Linked DNA regions of Homo sapiens: region 1 is linked to region 2. Evidence: promoter capture Hi-C in human tissues and cell types (Jung and others, 2019). All regions are on one chromosome and are shown on one strand. Each heading gives the region's core, a stretch centred on a gene start or on the middle of the fragment in contact. The rest is flanking DNA. Distances are from core to core; before and after follow the strand shown.

The links. The method cuts DNA at HindIII sites, captures the fragments that hold promoters and counts their contacts. A contact is called where the count stands out against the background at its distance.
Region 1: a fragment that was not itself captured here is called in contact with the fragment with the promoter of BCL11B in region 2 in 1 of the 25 tissues and cell types used here (dorsolateral prefrontal cortex).

What each region holds. Positions count from the first base shown.
Region 1 is chr14:98,082,860-98,085,949 of GRCh38, reverse strand. All of the region lies in intron 1 of LOC105370655 (a long non-coding RNA gene), which reads left to right. Among named protein-coding and RNA genes, the nearest start is that of LINC02295, 52 kb to the left of the region's middle. The HindIII fragment of the contact is 9,177 bases long and covers 1-3,090 here.
Region 2 is chr14:99,270,794-99,273,941 of GRCh38, reverse strand. It overlaps BCL11B (BCL11 transcription factor B), which reads left to right and starts at 1,745. Exons shown (of 4, transcript NM_138576.4): 1 at 1,745-2,781. The coding sequence starts at 2,724. RefSeq lists a silencer at 1,819-1,898. The HindIII fragment of the contact is 16,916 bases long and covers 1-3,148 here.

The DNA.
Region 1 (3,090 bases), core at 380-2,879, 1.2 Mb after region 2:
GAGAAAAAGGAATGCTTATACACTGCAGGCTGGAATGTAAATTAGCTCAGCCACTGTGGAAAGCAGTTTGGAGATTTCTCAAATAACTTAAAACATAACTACTATTTGACCCAGCAGTCCCATTACTGAGTATATACCCAAAGGAATATAAAGCATTCTACCATAAAGACACATTCACATGTAGGCTTATTGCAGCACTTTTCTTAATAGCAATGACATGGAATCAACCTAGATGCACATCAGTGGTGGACTGGATAAAGAAAATGTGGTACTCATATACACACCATGGAATACTGTACAACCATAACAAAGAACAAAATCAAGTGCTTTGCAGCAACATGGAGGCAGCTGGAGGCCATTATTCTAAGCAAATTTATGCAGGAACAGAAAACCAAATACCACATGTTCATACTTATAAGTAGGAGCTAAACATTGAGTGTACATGGACACAAAGAGGGAAACAATAGACACTGGAGCCTACTTGAGGGTGGAGGGTGGGAGGAGGAAGAGGATAGAAGAGGATAGAAAAACTACCTATTGGGTACTATGGTTACTACTTGGGTGACAAAATCATTTGTACACCAAAGCCGAGTGACACACTATTTACCCATGTAACAAACCTGCATGTGTACCCCCTGAACTTAAAATAAATGTTGGGAAAAAATATTTTTATATATTTCTTTTTAATGATAGTTCTACTGAGTATCCAGTTCTTGCTTGAAATTTACCATCTCTCAAAACTTAGAAAATGTTACTCCACCATCTTCTTTTTTCCATTATTTCTTTTGAGAAGTCTAGTGTTAGCTTGGTCATCTTTTCACTCTGGCTGCTTTTAAAATCTTATTTGAAGTTCTTTAGTTTTACAACAGTGCATTGAAGTGTGAAGTTACTTGTTTGCTTTCTTTAATACTGCTTGATATCCATTGCAATTTCTATATTTTTCTACGTTCTGTGTGTCTACATTTTTCTACGTTCTGTATGTCTACATTTTATCACCTTTTTATATTTTCTGTTTGCTTGCCTTTTTTTCCAATATGCTGAGCATTTCTTCTGATTTGCCTTCTTAATCACCAATTTTCAGTTCGTTTCTCAGTTAATGTTTATGCATTTACTAGGTTTTGAATTTCAATAATTTTATTTCTAGAAAGACTATGTAGCTCTCTTCTCTAATCTGCTGTGCCATGTTTGATAAATTGTTTCTAATTTTTTGATTTCGTCTTTTATTTCTTGAGATATTTCACATTACTTATTTTATATCAAATCTATAACTCCATGTGTGTGTGTGAACATACACTTATGCATAAGGACTACATGTGCCGTATGATCTGAGAAAGGAATTTCATTTGCTTTTGCTGAGGGCCAGAGAACCCTGCAGACCTGGTACTATTTTTGGCTCTTTGTAAGGTTGCTGATGTTACATGTAGGTCTGAGGTCAAGCTCCTCCATCTTACCAGGCTCTTGGGCTTGGCTTCCTTAACGTAGACTTGCTCATTGCTCAAGTTCCTTGTTCCAGTCTCAGCTCAGTCATGCTTGTTTCTTTGTTTTTATTTCTTAGAGATTCCCCTTATATTCTATCAATCCCATAAAAGCATTAAAATTATGTTTGCATTGTAATTTTCTAATCATATCAAGAGCTGTTGTATCTTAGCTGAGACATCTTTCTGGTCTCCTTGCCTGCCGTGCTACAGAAACCCACTTGCTGGAGTAATGTTTAGAGAAATATTTTCATCTCTATCATTTAGTGTCCCCTGGACTTCCATGTAATGAAAATAAAAATAGTAATAATAACAGCAACTATATACTGAGAATTGACAAAGTCTCAGAGACCATGCTAACCATTTTACAAAAAGCATCTGTAGTCCTCTCAACATGGCGAAGAAACTACATTTCTGAGAGTAAAAGTGAATAGTACTTATTTGTTACACAACTAGTTGATGATGAAAAATATTAAAAAATAGCTGTTGATGAAGCTGGGATGGAAAGAGGTTTGGCATAATATTCTATACATTTGAGAATATGCTATGAAATATCTCAATTTTTAAAATATAAAATTATATGAACTCTTCATAAAAGTACTTTAGAAATATAGCTGGAAAATAAAGTAATTTACCCCAAGAGAGTGACCTGATCACTCTTTCCCAACAATGAATATTTTATGACTGATCATGTCTTCACTTCACCTGGGACACCAGCAAGCTCTGCAACATATTGGAAGGTCAAATTAGTCAGATATGGCTGCTATTACCTTATTTATATTCCTCCTTTAGTCTTAACATTCTAGTTTTATGGATATTGCATTGTACTATTGCATTATTTTACATTGCAACCATTTTATAAATAAATTAATTTAAAAAATTGAGCCTCCTAGGTACATGACTGCCTTATGTAGAAATGGTCTACATTACTCAGATTTTGTTTTCAGAGCACATGTAAGACTCTAGCAGGTCAAATGTCCACATCACACAATATTTAATTTTCTTTTTGGAGGGAAAATCTCCTTCTAGTTCTTCTAGTATACCAGGTGATGACAACAACAACAACAACAAAATAATAGCAGGAGATGCAATTTTGATAACCTTAGAAACTTTGCAAAAAGCTTTTCTTCAGTTTGTTTTCTATGCACAACAGCTCATCCTGGATTTGTTGGGTTCTGCACATTGTAGAGAGGAGAAAACAGGTGACTTAAGGCTTTCTGGTTTGCCAATACCACAGGAATAATAAATGTCTTTATTGTAAAGAATTGGCTTGTGTGAATATGGAGGCTGAGAAGTCCCACAGTCTGCTGTCTGCAAGCTGTAGACCAAAGGAAGCTGGTGATGTAGTCCTGAGAACCAGAGAGTTGATGGTAGAAGTCCCAGTCAAGGGCAGGAGCAAGTCGATGTCCCAGCTCAAGCAGTCAGGCAAAGAGAGCTAGTTCCCCCTTCTTTTGCCTTTTTGTTCTATTTGGGCCTCCAACAGATTGAACTATGCCCACCCACACTGCAAAGGGCAATCTGCTTAACTGAGTCTATTGATTCAAATGCTAATCTCATAATAATGTTGAATCTGGGCACCCTGTGGTCCAGTCAAGTTGACATATAAAATTATCAC
Region 2 (3,148 bases), core at 496-2,995:
GGTGCAGCCTGCCCGGCCAGGGCGAGGAGGTGCAAGTCCGCGCCCCGCCCCCGGTCTCCATCCGCTCGGCCTCGCGTCCGCCCACCGTGGAGCCCACAGTTTACAGAACTGCAAGCCAGGGCACATTTTATTGTTATTATTTTTTAGGGTATGGGACTGGAAGGGATCTCTTTCTGTTCTCGCTCACGGACTCTGGGCGCTGTTAAATTGTTGGTGCCATCGCCCCACCCAAGACCTTCGGGACGAAAACAAAAACCCCCGTGTGCCCCCCGAGGAAAAGGCCCCGAGGGAGGCGGCGCTGAGGCGTCACGGCCTCGCCATGCGCCCGGGTGAAGCCGCCGGAGCCAGGCCTGGGGGCGGAGTGGGGTGGGTGCAGCTGGACTCGCCCGCGAAGCCTAGCCGGAGCCAGGCCCCGACCCGCCCTGGCCGCCTCCAGAGAAACCCTGAGAAGGGAGAGGAGGCCAGCCGCGTGGCGCGCCCAGCCCTGGAGGCCAGGTCATCAAATTGACAAAGTTGGCCACAGCCTGGGGAATGGGGGGTGTCCACGGGGGCCGTGGTCTGGCCTTGTCCCCGGGCCACGGAGAGGCCCCACAACTCCTCTTGTCCTCGCCGGTTGGAGATCAAACGGCTGACAAGGCAGCTGCGTCCTTCCCAGTCTGACAGGCATTTCCAAGTCCTACCCTGGGCCGAGGAGCGCGGGGGGCGGGGTGTGACTTCCAGGTTGCTGTGATTGTCAGGGGCGCCTCCTGGAGTCACCCACCCGAGTATCTGCGGAGATTTGGCCACACCTACTCCTGGGCTGGCAAGTCCAAGTCCCTCTCCCACGTGGAGCGCCCCGGTCCCTTTACCCTCTCGCTTGCCATAGACCCAGTTTAGGAGGTGGGGTCGTGTTTGACCCCAGGAGTTAATCGGGGTAAGGTGAGGGGAGGGGACAAAGATTTGAGTGAAAATCCTTTTCCAAGTGGGACTCAAACAAGGTCTCAAACACTTCTCACCCCCTCACGTGCTCTTGATTCTGTTGTCTTAGTGTCGTTTATTTTGTCATCCTCACCCTCCCAGAGTCTGTAATACCAGGATTTATATGGAGACACTTTTTGGAAGTTGAACTCCAACATCTACTCCCCTCCCCTCGCCGCCCGCGACCATAAAACAAAAGTAAAAACTACCAAGCGACTTTTCCAGGGAAACGAAGCGATTCTTACTGTCCCCCCAACTCCCATGTCGACCCCAACCCTTTTCCACAGTCCACGCCCCCACCCCCAAAGTCCAAGTCCGAAAGAGCTTTTGGGTGGGTGGAGACTTGCATTGATTCAATTTAGTTCACTCACACAGCACCCCGCCCCCCTTCTCAGGGGGTCCTGCTCCCAGGATGGAGGAGATATAAGGACGATTTTTCTTTTATTTTAAAATAAGCTGCCCAGTGGCCCCCCCCAACCCCCTCCCGCTGTTGCGCAGCCGGGGCTCGGGGGAGATGAGCGCACAAAAACGCGGTTTGCACGTGTGTCCGGCTTGGGCTGCGGGTGTGCGCAACTGGCGACTGTGTGTGTGTGTGTGTGAGTGTGCGCGCGCGCGCGAGTGTGTCTCTGTGTGTGCTTTCTTGTTCTCTTACAGGGTACAATGTTAAAAAGCCACCGCTAGTCGCCCCCAGTGCTCCGACTCTCTGGGTCTTTTTGTCTCTAGTGCAGATTAAACGTCACGTCCGCACTTGAACTTGAATTTTATCCCATTGTACAGAGGCAGCCCCAGCCATAGAGAGACCGAGAGCTCCCAGAGAACCCGGACTCCGCCATCTTCACGTTGCAATCTATAGCTCCCAGTCTGCGCCCGCACCGACCCAGGCGCACTGGGCGAGCCGCCCCTCCGCCCCGCTCCCCCCGGGCCCGCGGCGCCAGGGGAGCGCTGGGGAGCGCTCGCGGGGACTCGGCAGCCCCTCCGGCCGGCGCCAGCCTGCCAGGTGAACTGGGAAGGAGCCTCTCCTGGTGTCCCCCCAGAGCCTCGGAAGGGTCAGTCTCCGAGAAAAAACAAAAACAAAAACAAAAACAGGCAGCCCGCAGAAAACCCAGAAACAACCGAACCGGGGCAGTTTTACATTGCTTTGGGTTTTTTGAGGGGGCGGGGTGAGGGGGTACGAGACAAGTCCCCAAGTTTTCTTTGCTTTTTTTTTTCCTTTGCTTTTTCTTCTTTTATTTTTTTATTTGTTTGCATTTTTTTTCCCCTCCTGGTAGAAGTGCGCTTTCCACCTACCAGACCCTGAAAGAAAGTGTCAGGAGCCGGTGCAAAACCCAGTTTAAGTTCAAGAAGACATTTGCAAGTGCAAGAGGCCAAGCAGTTTGAAGAAGTGTAAGAGATTTTTTTTCCTTCGAAAGAATATATTTTTAAAGAAACCAGCCAGTCCGCGGAAAGCAACAGCAGTTTTTTTTTTTTTTGCCTCTTTTTCTTATTTTAGATCGAGAGGTTTTTCTTGCTTTTCTTCCCTTTTTTTTCTTTTTGCAAACAAAACAAAAAACAGCATAGAAGAAAGAGCAAAATAAAGAAGAAGAAGAGGAGGAAGAGAGGGAAAGAGAGGAAGGGAAAAAAAACACCAACCCGGGCAGAGGAGGAGGTGCGGCGGCGGCGGCGGCGGCGGCAGCGGCGGCAGCGGCGCGGCGGCGGCTCGGACCCCCTCCCCCGGCTCCCCCCATCAGTGCAGCTCTCCGGGCGATGCCAGAATAGATGCCGGGGCAATGTCCCGCCGCAAACAGGGCAACCCGCAGCACTTGTCCCAGAGGGAGCTCATCACCCGTAAGTGTCTGCGGAGTGCGCGCGAGGGGCCGGAGATGGGGCTCCGGGCGTCTGGGGCTGGGGACACCGAGCCCGGAACAGCCGAGCCTGGCCAGGCGCCGGGGCCGCCCGCTGGCTGGCAGAGTCTACGGCGTCGGCCTGGAGCATGGCGGGGGGCGGGGGCCATAGGAAAGTTTCTTTGCAGCCCGGGGAGTTGGGGCGCCGAGCAGCCGGACGCGCCTCGGGCTCGGGGGCCTGCGGAGCCGGCTCCGGGCCGGGGAGGGGGCATGCAGGCTGGAGGAGTGTGTGTGTGTGCGCGCCGAGCCCGGCTGGACGCTCGCCCCTCCGAGCGGCGTGTGTGGCGGCGGCGGCGCTGGTGGCGGGGTTT